Linked DNA regions of Homo sapiens: regions 2, 3, 4 and 5 are each linked to region 1. Evidence: promoter capture Hi-C in 16 types of primary human blood cells and fetal thymus (Javierre and others, 2016). All regions are on one chromosome and are shown on one strand. The core of a region is centred on a gene start or on the middle of the fragment in contact, and the rest is flanking DNA. Distances in the headings are between cores, read along the strand shown. Region 1 holds the start of ZFAND5 (zinc finger AN1-type containing 5). Region 2 overlaps OSTF1 (osteoclast stimulating factor 1). Region 3 overlaps CARNMT1 (carnosine N-methyltransferase 1). Region 4 overlaps CARNMT1-AS1 (CARNMT1 antisense RNA 1). Region 5 overlaps OSTF1 (osteoclast stimulating factor 1).

Region 1 (2,700 bases), core at 95-2,594:
CTTAGATGCTATCCCTTAGGAGACACTCAATCAATAAAGATAATCCGACCCTTCCCCGAAAACACACCTCCACGGAGTGCGTGGAAAGCGAGCAAAAAATTTCACATTCATCAGCCTAAATGCACCAAACAAAGGAGGTGTTCCATTTCCTCCATGAAAACGGATCTCAGGATAAAAACGCAGCGACGTCGAGAAGCCCAAAAGACGACGCCGAGAACCCCCGGCCCCATGTTCCAATGGATTTTGGAACAAGTTCGGGTCCCACTGATACCCCATCCCCCTCTAAGCAAAGGCCTCACTCAATAAAGCCCAACAGGGCCCTCTCCGAAAACCACTGAGTCATGCAGAACAGCAGCTCAGCAGGCCCGGCCAGCCCTTCGCCTGCAGGCCCCACGCGGATCCCCGACCCCCGACCCCCGACCCCGAACGGCTCCTCTTAGGGGAGAGCTAGGGGGGGCTGCAACGGGCAGGGGGCGCGGCCGCCGCCTCGGCCTCTTTGTTTCTCTGGGTCGTGGTGCCCACGCCGGGCGCCGCCGCGGAGGCGAGCGGCCTAGAGGCCGGCCCCGCAGAGGCGGCACGCCGTGCATTGTTTCCCGACCGTGCTGTGGAGCGAGCCAGGGACGCCGGGAGCCAGGTCTCGGGCCACGACGACAGGATGACGCCTCCGTCTTTGTGCTTCCTGGGCTGGCGGGCGGGCTCCCCTCCCCCGGACGCCGCCATCCGCGGCCTGCTCCGGCTTCGCCATTGGCCCGCGGCGCCCCGGTCCCTTCACTCCCGCCCCCGGCCCGGCAACAAGGAGCCCGGCTCCCACCCGCAGCCCCGTATCACTCACCCTGCAGGGTCCCAAATGCGAAAGCCGGGTTCGCGCGCGAAGCCGGCACGATGAGGCCGGGCCGAGGCCTCCGGGAAGGCTGAGCCGGGCGCCCTGGTGCCGCCGCCGCGGGCCGGGAGCGGGTCGGAGCAGCAGGCGGAGGTGGCGCCGCCGCCGCCGCGGGGTCTTCCTTTGTTCCTGCAGCAGCGTCGAGCGTGGCCGGGACACGCCGGAGCTCGGGAAGTGGGAGGAGGGAAGCGAGGGGGGGCCGAGGAGGAGGTGGAGGGAGGACCGGCGGCCGCAGCGGCTAACGCTGCTCGAGGCGCTCGCCTGTCGTCGCCTCACGCCTCCACAGGCCGCAGGTTGGGCGGACGAGGAGGGCGAGCGGACCGCGCGCCGCGAGGCCTGGGGCCGTAAGGGCCCGCTGATGGCGCTCTTCGCCGCTCCTGCCACCGCCGGGGAAGCTGCGCGGCTCCCGGGAGCGAGCGAGCCCGCGTAGGAGATGCACACAGCTCCGCGTCCCGGCCGACTAACGCACTCGCCGCCCGGCGCCCGGGCTGTGAGGGAAAAGAGGGGGAGGGGGCGGGACCCGTGCGTCAGCGAAAACCCCGGCGGCGGCGGCGGCGGCGGGGAGCGCGGTGACGTCGCGGGCCCAAGGCCACGCCCCCGGTGCCCTGTCAGTAGGTCCAGGAGGCGGGGCCGAGACGGGTTGCTGTGCCTTCTCGCGGAGCCCAGCCACTGGCCTGGCAGTCGGCCCCTAGGGTGGAGCTGGGAAGAGCGAGTCCTGTGGAGGATGCGTTTCTATTTTTAACCCAATTGTCCGCCCTCAGCCTCCCTCCTTCGGATTTTCTCATTCAAACCCGTTTTTCGCCATCCTAGTTCTCACGCTTTGTCTCCAGCCCTGGGCAGACATTCCCTCCCCCAAGAATCGTAAGGATTCACCCCCAGAAAAGGAAAAGAATTGCCTTATGGCTTCGAGGTCTTTTCTGTTTATGAAACCTCCTCACTCCCCACACCCATTTTGAGCTCCGAAGTCCAGCCCGAGCGTGGCCCTGACGCAGCTGGCGGCGTGCGTTCGCTCGCCCAAGGTCACGGGTGGTTGTGCGGAGTGAGGAAACGCGCGGCCGCCCAGGGCTGCCAATGCCCCGGCGGCGCTGTTCTGAACAAACTGTTTTGGCCAGCCTGTGAAATCCCTGGAAATTGACGATTCCAGCAAAGCGTCGTGAACTGGGAAAGCACCAAATGTTCTACTCAAAAGCCGCGAAGGGACAAAACAAGCTAGACCCGAGGCCCAGATGAAGCGGGAGGAGGAGGCTTGCGAGAGGAAGTTCAAGGGGGGAGGTACTAGGCGGGCAGTTCAGGCACGAGGCACAGGTCCCCCATGGGTGAAAGGATGACTTTACCCGGAACACTGGGAACCTTTTCAGAGCACAAACAAAAAACATTTTCAACTGACCGCTCCAAGTGAATTTCAGTTCAACTCAAAATAACAAAATTACTAAGTCGGAAAGGACTTCTGAAATTTTCTAGTAAACAACGGTCTAACGAATACATAGAAATGATGTTTAGGGTTTATATTAGCCACATATAGAATGGAGAAGAGGTCCCTTCAGTGTTTCTCAAAGTTGGTAATCAGAAAAAAAATCACCTGGGGTGATTAAAGATTCCTACGCATCTCCCCTGGATATGGTTTTGGTTGTTCCGGGGTGGGAGCGGGGGTGGGGGGGGGCCCATATTGCGCTTCAGGTGGTCCTTATTTATAATCTGTATTTGGGGGAATGCTATACTGATAGCTTGAGCCACCACTGCCAAATCAAACAGTTCTCCGCCACAGTTAGCAAAGTACCTGGAGCATAACAACCTTTTGTTTTGTTTTTTAACAAATTCGG
Region 2 (2,700 bases), core at 2-2,501, 2.7 Mb after region 1:
AAGCAAATGTCAGTGTTTCAGGTTTTTTTGTTATTCAGAGTAAAAACATCATAAAACTTAAAAGACATCACACGCATGCTGCTTAAATAACATTTTTGAGAAAAAAAGGTTTTTATCTAAAATGAACTTAATTTTTATGTATTTTTTACCCCAACAAAGGAATTAATCAAAAGTGAGGTGAAATATGCACGTGAATAGTCTTCTTTTATAAACTTGATACTTTTTATACCTGTTGGCAGAATAAAGCCTGAGAAACATCTTGAAAATTTCACAATGATGATGATGATGGGAATGGTTAACATATATTTGGCCCCATATGTCAGGCACTGCACCCAGCACTGTGTATGCTCTGTCTCCTTTAATTATTCTGACTTTCCTATCAGGTGGGTGGGTCCTCATATCCCTGTTTTATGGATGAAGTAGTACTTAATGAGGTCAAGTAAACTATCTAAGATCTCAAAGCTAGTGAGTGGTTGGTGTGACCTGGAAGTGGAACAGAAGCTTTAATTGAGTCCATGCATATGAGCAGAGAAACCTGCCAGAGATGTTATTGGGTTGGACCTGCTTTTGTTGGACAGTCATTTTATTAGCTTATGCAGTTGTATTATTGGTATTTGGTTTGTGTAACTGCCCTCTTTCAATGGATCCGTATTAGAGCATTAAACTATGCACTTTTTGAGAGTGGAACAGTCTTTTATTTCTTTGTAACTGCACAGCCACTAAATCGTTATGAATGACAGATAATGTAAAACGCTTTGATACAAAAAAAAGGTGGGTTTTTTTTTTTTTCCCTGAAAGAAGGTGGGGGTGGACTCAGAGACTGTGATTGGGCTTTTCTTGTAGCTTTACTACAAAGTAGCAAAGGCTGGAGGTTATGTGCTTCTGATAAGCATTCCTCCCTTCTGGAAATACTGGGGTCCCCTCCCTTGGCGTTTCAGCATTCCCACAATTTGACTTACGTGACTAGTGCAGTGAGATTTTCTAATACACACCTTATACCTCAGGGCATAACAGAACCCATTGCCAAAGTTGTCCTCACTTGCTTAATGGACAGGGAAAGACTACATTAAAAAAAAAATGATACAGGGACACCTTTCAGTGGGCTGATATGAGTGAGGTGTCAAGATTCTCTTATCAAATTAAAGGAGTTTCAGAAAAATGTACAGGCCAGGCACAGTGGTTCACACCTGTAATCCTGGCACTTTGGGAGGCCCAGGCAGGCAGATTGCTTGAGCCTAGGAGTTTGAGACCAGCCTGGGCAACATGGTGAAACCTTTTCTGTACAACAAATATGAAAAAATTAGCTGGGCTTGGTGGTGCGTGTTTGTAGTCCCTGCTACTTAGGAGACTGAGGTGGGAGGATCACTTGAGCCTGGGAGGCCAAGATCGTGCCACTGCACTCCAGCCTGGGTGACAGAGCGAGACCCTGTCTCAAATAAACAAACAAACAATACAACACAAATATTAGAACCAGGAGAACTTCCTGGTTCTTTTAAATAACTACATAGTATTCTGCTGAGCTCATTTAACCAGACCCTAATTAACGTACTTCTGGATTGTTTTCAATCTTTTGTTATAACAAATAGTCTCCCAATAGTATTGTTGTTGCTTACACACGTAAATCCATAGGATAAAGTCCTGGCAGTGGGATTTGTTGTTTCAGAGGGTAAGTGCACTGCTGTTTTCATAGAAATTTCCAAATCGCTTTTCAAAGAGGTCATACCAGTTTACTTCCCTACCAAAAATGTATGAGCATGTCTTAAACAGAAAAATCTCAGTGCTTGTGATAGGAGATGTTATCAAAGTGTGATCAGAGGGCTGGGAAGCATGGGGCAAGGAGCTTGAGGCAGCTGAGAAGATGTTACGGAAGAGGAGTAATCTAAGCAGAGTTCCCAATGCTGAGTAAGAGTTTGCTGGGCAGCAAAGGGGGAAAAGTCATTTGATTCAGGCAGAAATGAAATAATGCATCCTCCTGTCCACATTTGTCTAACTAAATAAGGGCTAAGCTTCTTTCAGAGAAGTCAAGGAAATTTGGTATGTGCACAGAGAACTGTGAACCAGATAATTTTCTCTGAATAAAGGGAAGGCCGTTTACCCAGTGTAACAGTTTGTGAAAAATGGTATTGCTCCACACAGAAAGCAAGAATTTAAATGCACACGTCAGCCCTCTTCACAGATTGCTTATCTGTTTCTCAGTGTTAACAGTTGCTGTAGGTGTTTAGTTTAGGGCAACGAGTTGAAGAGATTTAGCAACTGCAAATCAATTAAACAAGTTATTGGTGTGACTGCTGTGGCCCCCCTTTTTTTTTTTTTGAGATGGAGTCTTGCTCTGTCGCCCAGGCTGGAGTGCAGTGGCGCGATTTCGGCTCACTGCAACCTCCGCCTCCCGGGTTCACGCCATTCTCCTGCCTCAGCCTCCTGAGTGGCTGGGACTGCAGGCGCCCGCCACCACGCCTGGCTAATTTTTGGTATTTTTAGTAGAGTCAGGGTTTCACCGTGTTAGCCAGGATGGTCTCGATCTCCTGACCTCCGTGATCCACCCGCCTCGGCCTCCCAAAGTGCTGGGATTACAGGCGTGAGCCACCGCGCCTGGACATGCCCCCTCCTTTTTATTCTTCCAGTCATTTACCACTTTATGTCTGTGCATCTGTAGGATTTTTAGAAAGCCACAAGGCAAATTTCTCAGCTTACATTTGGGAT
Region 3 (2,700 bases), core at 57-2,556, 2.7 Mb after region 1:
CATTTATCAATACTATAAGTTTACATAATTTGATTACAAGATGAATCCTCTGTCTGAAATGGGGTTGGGGGGCAACCTCCAACTGCAGACCTCTATCTACAGTACATATCAAACAAATCAACTTTTTCTTGTAATGTCTTTTTTCTCTGCTTCTTGGGAGCACCTGCAGCATCACCAGTGGCACGTCATATGGGACCCATGGTGTTATTTAAGGTTTATGGTATTGCATTAAATTTGATGAAATCTGTTTACTGCTATATGCAATTTACTTGACAGACAAAAGCAGAGTGATTATTTTAAGAAGATACTGGTAACATCTGAGCTTACTGCAAAAGCAACAGGAAGTGGCTACAAAATTATTACAGTAGTACAGTATCTACTACAGATAATTTTATGCAACTAAGATTTAATGCTACATCTTTGCTTGTTTACATTTATCTCAATTGCAAATAGCTCCATGTAAGATCTGTGTTTGTGTAAGTTTTGATAAATTTTAACTTTTTATAATAGATTTGTGTATATTTTATGGTAGTAAATGATAAACTAGTATCTACACATATGCATTCATGGCATAATTTTTTCTTAATTTTTTCACTATTTCTAGGCTATGCAAGTTTGCTAAGTTTTTCAAATTGTTGCAAATGTCAAAACAATTTTCCAATATGTTTATTTCAAAAAATTTGTGTATAAGTGGACCCGTGCAGTTCAGATCCATATTGTTTAAGGGTCAACTGTACTTGCTAAATGTGTAGAACCGGATTGTCCATCACAACCTACTTCGATAATGGAAAAGCTTTTATTTGCACTGTCCAGTACAGCAGACTCTAGCCACATGTAGCTATTGAGCACCTGAAATATGGGTAGTGAAACTGAGCAACTAAATTTTAAAGCTTATTAAATACTAATTAATTTTAGCTTAAATTTATCCAGATATGATTAGTGGCTACAGTTTAAGTCTAGAAGATCACAAAATATTAGAATGTAACAATCCACTGTTCTCTGCTACATAAACTTTCTGTACCCCTAGGCTTTAAGTGACATTTTAAAAAGCATATTTTTGATGTTATACTATTTTCAGCCCAAGTATTTGAAGTGTTTCAAGAGAGTATATACAAATAAAAACTGTTTTTTTTAAAAAATGAAATGTCCTGAATCCAACATTACGCTGGTAAAGAAGAGAGTATAGGAAATAGTATCACAACCACTAGAATATTCACACAAGATCTCTTCTCTATATTGCCACACTTCAGTTCCTGATCAACCCCTACCCCAACAAAGTCCCATCCCATACTTACCCATAAATATCAATTTTAAATTGGTCCTAATATATTAAAAGTAAGTACAACTACGCACTTAACTAAATGGGTCCACCATATTCCCAAGACATTTCCCAATATTCTTTCTAGATTTTTCAAGAGCAAAATGTACCAGACTTTTCTGTATCTCCCACTCTTAGCTATCTGATGTTAGCTGCCTTTCCTAACTTTATGGTTCTTTCCGTCACAATTCCTGCATCAAATTCAATTCTCTGATGGTCTGACGCCTTGCTCCCTCTGTTACTACTAAACCTGGAGAAATAAAATATCCAAACTTCTCTTTTGGGCTCCGTAAAGTAATGCTGTCCCTGGTCCCTATTTCTGGGTTTAATCAGTAAATTATTTCATCAAGATCTTCGAAGTTCAAAAGTTCCTATCACATATACAATCAGATTCCAAATAACTTTAAGCTTTCACTAAGCAAGCTTCTAAATTCAGACTAGTAAACTAATTTAACTATCAGTCAAAAACTTGACAGACTATTTGGGAATGAGAAATGTATTTCTTTGCTACTATTTGTTTTGTTAAAAATAGAGCTTAAACAACATATGCCAAGCACTAGTGACATAAAAATAAAAAAGACTCAGCCCCTGCCCTTGAGGAGGTCACAGCAAAGCAAGAGATTTATAAAAACAACTATAATACATAAGATGAACAATATAAAAAAACTTTGCATAAAGCACAGCAGGAACCCACCTATGGGAACAGGTTTACCTGCGTAGGAGGTCATGTCTGTCTGATTCCAACTGCAGCCTCAGAACATAGTCACCGGTGGACTCATATCTCTTACGTGAATAAAAGTGTTATCTTCACCTGAAAATCCAGTTGATTTAAGTCCCTTTCAGCTCTTGGAATTATAATTTTGTGATTAAGCTACTTTAACATCTATCTAGAAGAAACGTGGAAGTTAGGGAGCTGTTTTTATGAATGAGGAGCATAAAGGTCCTACCACAGTGCCTAGCACACCAGGGAGAATTAGATACAGATTTGCAGAAAAAAAGAACGTAAAGGCAGCTCTTATTGTGACTTCTCTCATCTCTCCTAATAATTAGCAAATTTTAGAATATCCGGACCACTTCCGCCCTTAATCACCCACCAGTTAAAGACACTGAGCAGCATCATTCAATCGCTCACACAAAAGTGCAAGTGCGTTCACAGCGCCAAAGAGGGGTGGGTGGAAATCTTAAACTGCTCTTACAAGCACTGGTAACAGTTTGGGAAAATACGTCCTACAGCATCCCACGCGTAGGTGAACTTGGGCTCTCCGTGTGTTCAGTTTGGAGGACATCGACCACACACACCAATCAGCCCAGCAGTGGACGATTGTACCACCATCGTCTTCTATCTGAAATTGTTACAGCGCTTCTCTGGTCACCCCCATCGG
Region 4 (2,700 bases), core at 87-2,586, 2.6 Mb after region 1:
CAGTGCTTTGAAGGGAAAAACTATCATCCTCTGTAGAAAAAGTGTGCAAGAAAGATAATTCTATTTTAGTGCTAGGTACTATCTCAGTACTAATTTACCCTGTACCCCTGCATCTCAAGGTGGTTGTGAGAGGACAAGTTAATTATTAGTTATTAACAAGCACAGAAATGTACCAAGTTAGGGTAGTAAGCAATAGCTTTTCTGTTTGGTTTTTACTTTTCTTGTTTGAAATTGGTAACCGGCCGGGTGCGGTGGCTCACGTCTTTAATCCCAGCACTTTTGGGAAGATGAGGTGCACAGATCACCTGAGCCCAGGAGTTCCATACCAGCCTGGCCAACATGGTGAAACCCCATCTCTACAGAAAATACAAAAATTAGCCAGAGGTGGTGCCTTGCACCTGTAGTCCCAGGGAGGCTGAGGTGGGAGGATCGCTTGAACCCTGGAGGCAGAGGCCAAGATTGCACCACTGTACTTCCAGCCTGGGTGACAGTGTGAGACCCTGTCTCCAAAAAAAAAAAAATAAATTGAAAACCCGTCTGTCTCAAACAGAGGAAGAGTTTTGCCATTTTTAAATCAGCAGGAAAGATCTTAATCGTAGTCATCAAGTGCTGTTTGAAAGGTTTTGAGTACCCCCAAAATAATAAGTTTAGCTAATGGTTGGTTCTTTTGTGTTCCTCTTTACAAACGCTCATTTTTTCAAAATTGTGAAACTTATCATATATGCAAAAGGTTGTATAAAATACACATGTAGTTAAAAGAATGATAGTAAGACATACAGCATTCTGTTTCAGAAATAGAATACTACCTATACTAGAACATGACAAGCTCCCTATGCGTCCCTTCCCCACTGGCACATACCCTTCCCTTTCCCTCACTCCCGGTAATTACCGTTTTACATGTTGAGTTAATCATTCCTTTGCTTTTTAACTCTTCCATTTGTATGTCTGTATGTATATTGCTAAATAACTTTTTTTTTTTTTTTTTTGAAACGGGGCTTGCTCTGTTGCCCTGGCTGGAGAGCAGTGATATGATTACAGCTCACTGCAGCCCTGACCTCTCAGGGGCAAGCAGTCCTCCCACCTCAGCCTCCTGAGTAGCTGAGACTACAGGTGTACATCACCACACCCAGCTAATTTTTAAAATTTTTTTGTAGAGCCAGGGTTTTGCCACGTTGCCCAGACTTGTCTCAAAGTCCTGAACTCAAACAATCTGCCTGCCCTGGCCTCCCAAAGTGTTGGGATTACAGGCATGAGCCACCACACCCAGCTTAATATATTTTCTGAGACCAGGTCTTGCTCTGTTGCCCAGGCTGGAATGTAGTGGCGTGATCACTGCTCACTGCAGCTTCAACTTCCTGGCCTCAAGCAATCCTCCTGCCTCAGCCTCCCAAGTAGCTGGGCCCATGGCTTGTGCCACCACACCCAGCTAATTTTTTATTTTTAGTAGCAACAAGGTCTCACTATGTTGCCCAGGCTTGTTTTGCCGGGCTTTTTTTTGTTTTTGTTTTTAAAACAGCTTTACCTAGGTCTAAATGACACACAATAATGTGCATATAAAGTGTACAATTTGACATTCATACACCTGTGAAACCATAACCACCATCAAGATGATCAAAGTTTTGAGAGCAGTCTTTGACATCTTGTTCTTTAGGAGTGTGTCAACTATACTTGGCCCTTTGTTCTTCCATAATAGCATCCTCTGTAACATTTAGTTACCCTTTTGGAATTTTGGTTATAATTGCATTGAGATTATAGATCAATTTGGGAAGAATTATTATCTTTACAATACCAAGCTCATTTCCTGTTCAAGAATATAACTATTTAAGTTTTTAAAAATCTTTCAATAAAGTTTTATATTTCTCAACATAAAGAGCTTATATCTTTGTTAAGTTTATCCCTAGGCACTTTATAATTTTTGTAGACAATATTCTTTTTCTTTTTAAATAACATTTTCTGAGTTTTTGTTGCTGCTCTGGGTTCTTTTTTTTTTAAGGCCCCAGAAGTAGAATTTGAAATTAGTTTACCCTAAGTTGTAAGTAGTACCAGATCCACTTGTTCAAGGAATTTGTCCATTTCATTCATCACATTTGTTGGAATATTTTCTTAGTTTCTCTTTTTCCCATTTCATTGGCTTCTACTAAATTTGGATTTACTTTGCTCTTCTTTCTCTAGCTTCTTCTAATAGAACCTAGGTCACTGATTGTAGTCTTTGTTAGTTTCTTTTTGGAGACAGAGTCACTCTGGCTGGAGTGAAGTGGCACGATCTTGGCTCACTGCAGCCTCTGCCTCCCAGGTTCAAGCGATTCTCCTGCCTCAGCCTCCCGAGTAGCTGGGACTACAGGTGCATGCCACCGCACCTGGCTAATTTTTGCATTTTTAGTAGAGGTGGGGTTTCACCATGCTAGCCAGCTTGGTCTCAAACTCCTGACTTCAGGTGATCCACCCACCTCGGCCTCCCAAAGTGCTGGGATTACAGGCGTGAGCCACCGTGCCCAGCCGTCTTTGTTAGTTTCTAAAATAAACACTTAAAGCTGTAACTTTCCCTGTAGCACTGCTTGGGCTACATCCTACAAATTTTGGTATGTTGTATTTTTATTATCTTTCAGTTTGAAATACTTTCAAAATTTCCTTTCTTGTTACTCTACCTCCTTCCTATCGTTATGAATTTCATTTTAAGTTAACCTATTGGTATTTACTTAG
Region 5 (2,700 bases), core at 65-2,564, 2.8 Mb after region 1:
ATAATAGTCCCACCAGGTTTTAGTGAGAATTAAATGAGATTAATTGCCTAAAGCTGCTTTTACTATTAAGGAGTAATTGTTACTATCGAAGGAATAGTGGTTGCTATATTAATAGACATTTAACAGATATTTTTGATGGGTTGTGTATTGATTTATTTACTTCCAATTCTACTCTAAGATGGAGTTTCTCCACTGCTTTTAAAAAAATCTTAGTTATTATTGAATATACAGGAGAATATACATTTAATTCTTTAGGCTTTAAAAAATATTCTATATTTAAAATGTTGTATTTTTAATATTTTTAGTCCCAAGGATTATAGGCTACAGTCAGTAATGACCACTTCAAGCCCTGTTGCCTCTATATTTCTCCCCTGTTCAGCTCCGTTCAATTCAGGTATGAAGGGGGTAGCATCTGGTACAGCAGGTAGCCTCTAGCTCCCACAGACCTTCCTGACTGGTTAAGTGCCATGCCATACCCATTGTTAAATTTTGAATCTCATTCCAGAACTAGGTTAGTCTTATCTTCTTTTTCTGAATGAGAATTTCTGTTGGAAGCTGTTTGGTCTCTCTCTCTCCCCTCTGACCAGCAGCCATCTTCTCTGGAGGGATAGATACACCACAGCATATCCTAAGCTGACCTGGCCTCCTCGAAATCACTGGGACCAGGCAATATTGAAAGGCTGAGGTGGGCTCTGAGGGACATTGCTGGCATGTGCAGCTCCCCAGGCAGGCCTGGGTCCAGTTTTAAGCTCCTGTTCCCCCTCAGGAGATGGGGACAGCAATGCGCAACCCCAGTCTTGGGGATCCATTGAACAGGAAGAACGCTAGGTAGCTCCTGGTTCTTCCTGCCAACCCATTTCTCATTTGTCTTGCTTAAAGGCAAGGGTGTCTTGGCACCACCCAGCCCCATTTGGTTCTTTTTTCTCACCCAGCTCCTTTTAATAAAGTGTCAACCACGGACCTGGCTGGACTGAATTGACGAGTGTCAAGACAGACTGATGAGGAGGGAACAGAATTTCCTGTGTTAAGAGGAGCATTGATTTCCAAAGGGAAACCAGCAGGACCCTGCTCTGTCATGTAAAGGTTGCTGGGCTGCACTAGGTTAATAGAGCCACGTGTAGAGGAAGGAGACTGGGAATCTAAGAGCTGAGATAGGAGCCCAGCCCTGCCACTCACTCTGATTTGTAGAGAGTTTTTAACTTCTCTAAGCCTGGTTGTGAAATAGAGATTATATCCATGACCCATCCAAGCCTAGTGAGTTGTGAGGACCAAATGAGGTCAAGTATACTTTGCAAGTAAAATATGCTGCCATTGGTTTTGTTATACTGTACTATAGGGGTAGGGCAGTTGGGAGTGTATACAGACAGATATTTTCCAAGGTGGCCAGCTGTTAATCTGGTCATGACACCATGATGGCCAATAATGGCTGTGTGTGATGCCTTTTGTATGAGAGAAAGCACAGGTGGTGGGTAAGAGCAGGGACTTCGTAATCTGACTTATAGTTCAAGTCCAGGTTCTACCATGTACCTGCTCTATGGCCTTGGAGAGGTTTCTCATCTGTAACATGATGATAAGAATAGCACCCACTTCATAGTGTTCTTGGTGAGGAACAAATTAGTTAATATTTCTGAATGCCCAGACCAGTACGTGGCACATAATATATACTATAAAGTGTTGAATAAAAACATCTGTGGAGAATTTGTTTTCTCTTTTTATTAATTTTGGGGGCTTCAGACTGACAAATCTTAAAAATTTCAAAAGTATATCAGTTTTTCTAAACTTTTCATAAAATATATTTGCATAAACCAACAAAATTAATGCCTTGGGAATTATATGTTACCAAGAATATATGGAATGGGAATATATGTTACCAAGTGTGTACTCTTTGCTGTAACATCCCAGTGGACAACAGCCTACTTATTCTGATACCTTGCTGTTCTTCAAGGAGAGAGGAAAGGAGGAATGTAGTTAAAAAACAAAGAAAGGCCGGGCGCAGTGGCTCACGCCTGTAATCCCAGCACTCTGGGAGGCCGAGGCGGGTGGATCACGAGGTCAGGAGATCGAGACCATCCTGGCTAACACGGTGAAACCCCGTCTCTACTAAAAATACAAAAAAATCAGCCGGGCGAGGTGGCAGGCACCTGTAGTCCCAGCTACTCCGGAGGCTGAGGCAGGAGAATGGCGTGAACCCTTGGGGGGCGGAGCCTGCAGAGAGCCGAGATCGTGCCACTGCACTCCAACCTGGGCGACAGTGAGACTCCGTCTCAAAAAAACAAAAAAACAAAAAACAAAAAACAAAGAAAAGCTGGAAACAGAGAAGTGCATACTTCATTATGTTATTGTTTTCCCATTTCTGTTCCCTAACTGTGATGCTGGGAATTTAAAAGTAGGTGCTCATTGAACAATTTAGATCAGGTATCCTGCTAGTGGTTTCTTAATGGAAAATGTGAATATTGCAGGTGAAATCTGTTGTTAAAATAATGAAATTACCGTGTTGTATGTACTGCCACCAACACTGTGAAGAATTTGGTACTTAGCTAGATTAGGAAAACGTGTCCCTAGTTTCTTTAGAAGAAGACATTTTACGAGTAGTAGCATTCCGTGTCTGGGAGCTATGGATTAAAAGAGAATAAACTGTCGACTGTAATTTCTCGGGATGAAAAAATGAGGTCACTTTTTGCCTGACTGAAATGGACTGCC

Evidence for each region. Contacts are between HindIII fragments. The CHiCAGO score rates a contact against its expected background, and 5 or more counts as called.
Region 2: a fragment that was not itself captured here is called in contact with the fragment with the promoter of ZFAND5 in region 1 in 1 of 17 cell types (fetal thymus); the score reaches 5.1 in fetal thymus.
Region 3: a fragment that was not itself captured here is called in contact with the fragment with the promoter of ZFAND5 in region 1 in 2 of 17 cell types (fetal thymus and total B cells); the score reaches 8.4 in fetal thymus.
Region 4: a contact is called between a fragment that was not itself captured here and the fragment with the promoter of ZFAND5 in region 1, in 3 of 17 cell types (total CD8 T cells, non-activated CD4 T cells and naive B cells). The highest score is 7.8, in total CD8 T cells.
Region 5: a fragment that was not itself captured here is called in contact with the fragment with the promoter of ZFAND5 in region 1 in 1 of 17 cell types (neutrophils); the score reaches 5.2 in neutrophils.

The regions. Positions count from the first base shown.
Region 1 is chr9:72,363,864-72,366,563 of GRCh38, forward strand. It overlaps ZFAND5 (zinc finger AN1-type containing 5), which reads right to left and starts at 1,345. Exons shown (of 7, transcript NM_001102420.3): 1 at 833-1,345. RefSeq lists enhancers at 348-1,051, 1,052-1,756 and silencers at 364-1,193, 1,204-1,583. The HindIII fragment of the contact is 8,298 bases long and covers 1-2,700 here.
Region 2 is chr9:75,093,597-75,096,296 of GRCh38, forward strand. The region is part of intron 1 of OSTF1 (osteoclast stimulating factor 1); the gene reads left to right. Among named protein-coding and RNA genes, the nearest start is that of OSTF1, 6.4 kb to the left of the region's middle. The HindIII fragment of the contact is 1,505 bases long and covers 500-2,004 here.
Region 3 is chr9:75,025,023-75,027,722 of GRCh38, forward strand. All of the region lies in intron 1 of CARNMT1 (carnosine N-methyltransferase 1), which reads right to left. Among named protein-coding and RNA genes, the nearest start is that of CARNMT1, 1.9 kb to the right of the region's middle. RefSeq lists an enhancer at 2,103-2,152. The HindIII fragment of the contact is 836 bases long and covers 889-1,724 here.
Region 4 is chr9:74,954,172-74,956,871 of GRCh38, forward strand. The region is part of intron 1 of CARNMT1-AS1 (CARNMT1 antisense RNA 1); the gene reads left to right. Among named protein-coding and RNA genes, the nearest start is that of CARNMT1-AS1, 2.6 kb to the left of the region's middle. The HindIII fragment of the contact is 4,014 bases long and covers 1-2,700 here.
Region 5 is chr9:75,121,156-75,123,855 of GRCh38, forward strand. The region is part of intron 2 of OSTF1 (osteoclast stimulating factor 1); the gene reads left to right. Among named protein-coding and RNA genes, the nearest start is that of OSTF1, 34 kb to the left of the region's middle. The HindIII fragment of the contact is 9,426 bases long and covers 1-2,700 here.